Linked DNA regions of Homo sapiens: region 1 is linked to region 2. The links are contacts of gene promoters, found by promoter capture Hi-C in blood cells and fetal thymus (Javierre and others, 2016). All regions are on one chromosome and are shown on one strand. The core of a region is centred on a gene start or on the middle of the fragment in contact, and the rest is flanking DNA. Distances in the headings are between cores, read along the strand shown. Region 1 holds the start of ZMYND15 (zinc finger MYND-type containing 15). Region 2 holds the start of SLC52A1 (solute carrier family 52 member 1).

Region 1 (3,226 bases), core at 271-2,770, 300 kb before region 2:
CGGCCCCAGGGGAAAAGGCTCAGGTAAAGAAAACTGTCAGGTGGAAGCTGCTAAGCCCTGGAGGCAGAGCCTGAAGAGCAGTGGAAAAGTCTCACCTTTGAGATCAAGACAGCTCATCAATTCCTGAACCCATGGGTCCTTGTTGCCCCCACACACGCTCCAGGAAAGGAGCTGGAACCTGCGGAGGAGAGACCTGGGCTTAGCTGCGGCGCCTTCTTTCCTTCCCCGGCTCCTTCCTCATTCCAGAGGCGTGAAGTTGCCACCAAGAAAGAGCCCTTTCTCCTGGGACTGGGAAACTCCCCAGTAGGTGAGACGGAGTCATGAAGTTTCGGGGAATGAGAGCAAACGGAACCCGGAGATGGGGCTCGGTGAGCCGGGAAGGAGTTCAGGCTGGACCAGAGAGGGTCCTGGAGGCACCTGCAAGGAGGGGCCGCCCAGGCGCTGCCCTCGCAGAGGCAGGTAAAATTACCTCGTGTAGTATAGACACCGATGGTAAGCTCTCAGGTGTTTCCGGAGACGATTCATGAACTGAACCGATGGCGGGGAGTCGGAAGAAATTCTTTTACCACAATAACAACTTCCAGTGACGCTGCCCTCGTTGCCATTGCCTGCGCGGGACGGAGGTGGTCGGCACCCATTCCCAGGCCCAGGGTCCCCACTCCGCTGTTCCCTGGCATCCAATCCACAGCCCCATGACAGCCTCTCGGTGGACCCAGGGTCAGAGCGCCAGGCTCAACCCACACATCATCACGCCCCCGACAACATCCATAATCCCGCCCGGAGCCAGGCGTCCCCGGGCCTCTGTCCCCAACCCCAGGCGGCTGGCTGGCTTTCCTCTTGTCCCCGCTGCCTTCATCCACTCAACTCCGTGGGCCTCGTGTCCCCTCCCCAACTCACCCCCTTCCCGTGACAGGGGAATCTGGGTCCCCTGCCCCGCCCCCGGCTAACCTGGCTGAGTCAGGTACACCAGCAGGAGCAGAAGCAGGAGCAGGAGCACGCGGGACCCGGGCCGCAAGTCCCGTCCCATCTCGGGGCTCCGCGGACTCTGCGGGGATGGAGCCACCTCGCTCTGACTCCCAGACATGCTCCGGCGCGTGACGTCCAGCTGGTGTCTCAATGGCTTTCGCCGGGGACCGGAGGAGACGGCGGCCGGAGAGGAGGCGCGAGCCAGCTGCACCCCCCGGCCCTGCTGTGCCCCGACCGTGCGCTCAGTACTCGGCCCGCGCCATGCCAGCCTCTGGACGCAGGGAAAGCCGAGGAGGTGGAGCTCCCGCGCCCTGCGCCCCCGCACTGGGCCCGGCTCCGTCGAGGGAAGGCCAGGAATCTTGGAAGAAACCGAAAGAAAACTCCGGCGGCGGGCGAGGAGGGGCGGGAGGACGACGGCCCGAGGAGCCGATTCGGTTCGGTTCAGGAGGCCGCCCGCCTGGCCCGTCCGCCGACCTGTGAGGCGGCTGCACTGCCGGACCGGCCCTCCTCCTCCGAGGCACTTTCACTTCCCCGATCCGGGCGCCGCGGGACCCAGCCGCGCTGCATGAGCCTCCCGGGCGGCCCGGTGGAGAGAGTCGCCGCCAGCCCCGGCCGCGCGCACCTGCGGGGCAGCCACCCGCGGACGCACCGAGCCCGGGGGGCGTGGCCGCCCGCTGAGCCGGCGAGGGCTCGGGCAGCCCTGACGTCACAACCGCACCCGCGCACCCTCCACCGCGAGGTATTTACCTTCGAAAAGTGGTGGCGGCTGCAGGTACCGGAGGAGTGGGGCGGCCGGGAGGGGCTAGGTCTACCGGGGCTGCCCGCCACGCAGATCCGAGCCCAGGGAACCCCCTCGCTCCCACTCCCATACCCCACAGACGCATCCAAAATGCTTCCCTCCCCACCAAACCGTTCCCGATAGGATTAGCCCTCTCTCCTCTCTAGCCTTAATTTAAACTCTGCTTTTGAGGGTGTGAACTCTCCAATTTTAAGCCCCAAATACCATCTCATCCCTGAGTAGTCTTCTCCAACCCTGGTCACCCACTTTCAAGTCCAGCCCCCATTTTCCTCCCTAAACTCCCATCCTCAGCCCTGAAAAATCCTCTTCTCCGCTCCTAGCATATCCACGGATCCAACCCTAAGTGACTCTCAAACCTACCCTCTCCCTCAATTTGTGACCCAGCCCCAAACTCCATCATTGCTCTCCTGTCCCTCACCATATATCCCTTCTTTTGCTCAGTCTGGGCCGGGGCCCTGTGCCGCTGAAGACATGGAGTTTGTGTCTGGATACCGGGATGAGTTCCTTGATTTCACTGCCCTTCTCTTCGGCTGGTTCCGAAAGTTTGTGGCAGAGCGTGGAGCTGTAGGGACTAGCCTTGAGGGCCGCTGCCGGCAGCTGGAGGCCCAGATCAGAAGGCTACCCCAGGACCCTGCCCTTTGGGTGCTCCATGTCCTGCCCAACCATAGTGTGGGCATCAGCCTGGGGCAAGGGGCAGAACCAGGTCCTGGACCAGGCCTGGGGACTGCCTGGCTCCTGGGAGACAACCCTCCACTCCACCTGCGAGACCTGAGCCCCTACATCAGCTTTGTCAGCCTAGAGGATGGGGAGGAAGGGGAGGAGGAAGAGGAGGAAGATGAAGAAGAAGAGAAGAGAGAGGACGGGGGTGCAGGCAGCACAGAGAAGGTGGAACCAGAGGAGGACCGGGAGCTAGCCCCTACCAGCAGGGAGTCCCCCCAGGAAACAAACCCTCCAGGAGAGTCAGAGGAGGCTGCCCGGGAGGCAGGAGGTGGCAAGGATGGCTGCCGAGAGGACAGGGTGGAGAACGAAACAAGACCCCAGAAGAGGAAGGGACAGAGGAGTGGTAAGAACCCAGGGCTGGCCCTGCCCTACCCCTTGCCCAGCCATCCTCCCTTCGGAAGCCCTCCCCTGCCACTAGTTCTGAGTGCTGGCCTTCAGGCCAATCTGGCCTGAAAAGGTGTTTTTATTGACCCACAGTGGGGTTTTTTTTTTTAATTTAATGTTTAAACATTGCAAGAAAAAAAGTATCCAGAAGTCTGGATTTACACATTCCCAAGAAAAATCTCAAGCTCTGACAGTGGGCCTACATTTCTGCATGGCAGCGCATTCTGGTCCTCTGTAGCAGCTGTCCCCTTTAGAAGGAGCGTGCCCTCTCTACCCAGAGCCCTTTACTCAGTGAGGTTACTTGCCTAGCCCCGTAGGTATTTGAGTTTGGTACTCCTGACCCTGACCACATTTGTC
Region 2 (3,093 bases), core at 367-2,866:
CTGTGGTTACAGAGGGTAGTGATGGCAACAGCAACAGGAGACCCCGGAAGGCGGCAGCTGAAGTGACCAGAAGGGCAGTCAGTGCCCAGAAGAAGGTGCTGGCAGGAAAACGCTCAGGGAAGTCGAGGGGAGGCCCAGAGGTGCCATTGGTGGGCGCTGGTGGGCACTCGAGGCGGCCCACACCTTGCACTAGGGCCAGCACACAGGGGAGTAGGGCACTGAGACCCTGACCCAGGAAGAAAGACCGTAAGAAAGGAGGTGGCAGGTGGCTCAGGAAGGGCAGGAAAGTGACATTAGAGGTACAACAGGCCATTGCCAACACCAAGGCCAGAGTTAGGAAGGCCACAGAGTGGAGCTGCCCTGCCACTGGGGCCACGTGGTGCCACAGAGGGGCCAGCAGGGCTGTGCCCACTACACTCAGCACCTGTACCACCTGGATGGGGACCTGCTCGCCCTTGCCCGGGGCCAGCTGCCTCCACAGGGTCACCACCAGCAGACCCAGGTTTCCCAGCGCCACAACCACAGAGAGGTATGAGGGGAGGCTCCAACCTGCAGGGAAGGAATGATGCCATGTCAGGAGCACAGTGGCTAAGGGACAAAGAGCTGCCACAGGCCACCTTTCTGGGCATACCTGCCCCACGCTTCCCTGTACCTCCCTCCCACTCACCCTCTGGAAGGTCTTTTACCACCACAGGCAGCTCCACCCAGATCCCGTTCACAGCAGCCCAGGAGCCCATGCCAAAAAGGGCCACCAGCAGGTGGGTCAGCACCAGACGGCCCAGCGTGGGTGCTGCCATTCAGCCCAAAGCTGGACCCTCCAGGACAGGGCAAAGGTCACAGGCAGGTCCTTCCCTAGGTAGGTCCAAAGATGCTTTGGTTCTTCTGGAAACTGAAGACCTTCTAGCTGGAGGGAAACAGACAGGCTGGCAGGTAATAGGCTGGTGGGACAGAACCGGAGTCAGAAGACAAGTCGGTCAGACTGCTAAGACCAGGGCAACTGGAGGGAGAGGTGGCCGGGGGCGGGCGGGGAAGGTGGGGAGCCAGGACTTACCACGGGGCACCGGCTGTGCGTTTGGGTACAGCGACCCAGCAGTGCCGGCAGGCAGACAGGCAGAAAGCTGGCCCGAGGTGCAGCTGCCCCAGAGGAGCAAAGAGGGAGCTGATTTTCCTACCCACAGAGGACCCGGGGTCCAAGTTGTCAAAACAGCTCAGCACTGGCCGGGTGCGGTGGCTCACACCTGTAATCCCAGCACTTTGGGAAGCTGAGGAAGGCAGATCGCCTGAGGTCAGGAGATTGAGACCATCCTGGCCAACATGGTGAAAACCCGTCTCTACTAAAAATACAAAAATTAGCTGGTCGTGGTGGTGGGTGCCAGTAATCCCAGCTACTCAGGAGGCTGAGGCAGGAGATTCACTTGAACCCGGAAGGTGGAGGTTGCAGTGAGCCAAGATCACACCACTGCATTCCAGCCTGGGCGACAGAACGAGATTCGGTCTCAAAAACAAAACAAAACAAAACAAAACAAAAAAACAGCTCGGCACCAACACGCTCACCCTCAAATGGACCCCGGGACAAGGGCACGTCTCTGGTGCCACTTGCAACCCTAGCGCTTTTGCGACACTCAGGACTTGCTGAGGCAGGTCGAGTTGGAGAGGGGAGTGGCTGGGGCGGGCTCTGCCCGGAGGGGCGTCTCCGTGCTGCCCTCCCGCCTGCCTCAGGGGGGCATCCCGGGAGCCGCCAGGTGCGCAGGGGTCCCCGCACCTCCGGATCCGGCAGTCCCCGGACCCAGCGGCTGGCGGTCTGCCTGAGAGGGAGCCCCCTCCGCCGGGGAGGCGGCCCAGCCCAGAGCCCACACAGCTGGGGTTTTGTTGTTTGTTGTTTTAATTAATTAATTAATTTTGAGACGGGGTCTCACTCTGTCACCCAGGCTAGAGCGCAGCGGTGCGCGATCGCGGCTCACTACAGCCTCAACCTCCCAAGCTCAAGGGATCCTCCCACTCAGCCTCTCCCCACCCCCCCACAAGTAGCTGGGACCACAGGCGAGCATCACCATGTCCAGCTAATTTTTTTTTTTTTTTTTTTTTTTTTTGGTAGAGACAAGGTCTCACTATGTTGCTCAGGCTGGCTTGGCACTCCTGGGCTCAAGCAATCTTCCTACCTCAGCCTCCCAAGTAGCTGGGACTACAGACGCACCACACCTAGCTACCGCCACGCTCAGCTGTTTTTACACTTTTTTTTTTTTTTTTTTTTTTTGAGACGGAGTTTTGCTCTTGTTGCCCAGGCTGGAGTGCAATGGCACGAGCCTCTGCCTCCCGGGTTCAAGCCATTCTCCTGCCTCAGCCTCCCGAGTAGCTGGAATTACAGGCGCCCACCACCATGCCCTGCTAATTTTTGTCTTTTTAGTGCACAGGGTCTCGCCATGTTAGCTAGGCTGGTCTTGAACTCCTGACCTCAGGTGATCCACCTGCCCCGGCCTCCCAAAGTGTTGGGGATTACAGGCGTGAGCCACCGTGCCTGGCCAGCTGTTTTTACACTTTTAAATGGTTGAAAAAAAATTAGCTGGACGTGGTGTGCACACCTGGCTAATTTTTGCTTTTTTTTTTTTTTTTTTTTTTTTTTGAGACGGAGTCTCGCTCTGTCGCCCAGGCTGGAGTGCAGTGGCGCGATCTCGGCTCACTGCAAGCTCCACCTTCCAGGTTCACGCCATTCTCCTGCCTCAGACTCCCGAGTAGCTGGGATTACAGACGCCTGCCACCACGCCTGGATAATTTTTGTATTTTTCGTAGAGATGGGGTTTCACCATATTGGCCAGGCTCGTCTCGAACTCCTGACCTCAGGTGATCCGCCCGCCTCAGCCTCCCAAAGTGCTGGGATTACAGGCGTGAGCCACCATGTCTGGCCCTTTAATGATATTTTGTACTTGTTTACTCACTGACCATCTCAGGGATTACCCTGACCTACTACCCATTTTTGTATGGCCTGCTAGCTAAGACAGGTTTTCACATATTTATTTATTTATTTTTATTACTATTTTTGAGAAAGTGTCTTCCTCAAAAGGAAGTGCAGTAGCACAATCACAGCTCACTGCAGCC

The links. The method cuts DNA at HindIII sites, captures the fragments that hold promoters and counts their contacts. A CHiCAGO score of 5 or more calls a contact.
Region 1: a contact is called between the fragment with the promoter of ZMYND15 here and the fragment with the promoter of SLC52A1 in region 2, in 5 of 17 cell types (erythroblasts, total B cells, naive B cells and 2 more). The highest score is 8.2, in erythroblasts.

What each region holds. Positions count from the first base shown.
Region 1 is chr17:4,738,313-4,741,538 of GRCh38, forward strand. It overlaps ZMYND15 (zinc finger MYND-type containing 15), which reads left to right and starts at 1,521. Exons shown (of 14, transcript NM_001136046.3): 1 at 1,521-1,738; 2 at 2,207-2,828. The coding sequence starts at 2,237. CXCL16 (C-X-C motif chemokine ligand 16) reads right to left here and starts at 1,616. Exons shown (of 6, transcript NM_001386809.1): 1 at 949-1,616; 2 at 470-608; 3 at 96-178. The coding sequence starts at 1,027. RefSeq lists enhancers at 129-1,034, 1,035-1,939 and a silencer at 1,488-1,707. The HindIII fragment of the contact is 8,207 bases long and covers 1-3,226 here.
Region 2 is chr17:5,033,810-5,036,902 of GRCh38, forward strand. SLC52A1 (solute carrier family 52 member 1) reads right to left here and starts at 1,617. Exons shown (of 5, transcript NM_017986.4): 1 at 1,052-1,617; 2 at 668-904; 3 at 1-549. The coding sequence starts at 797. The region is part of intron 3 of LOC105371501 (a long non-coding RNA gene); the gene reads left to right. The HindIII fragment of the contact is 18,376 bases long and covers 1-3,093 here.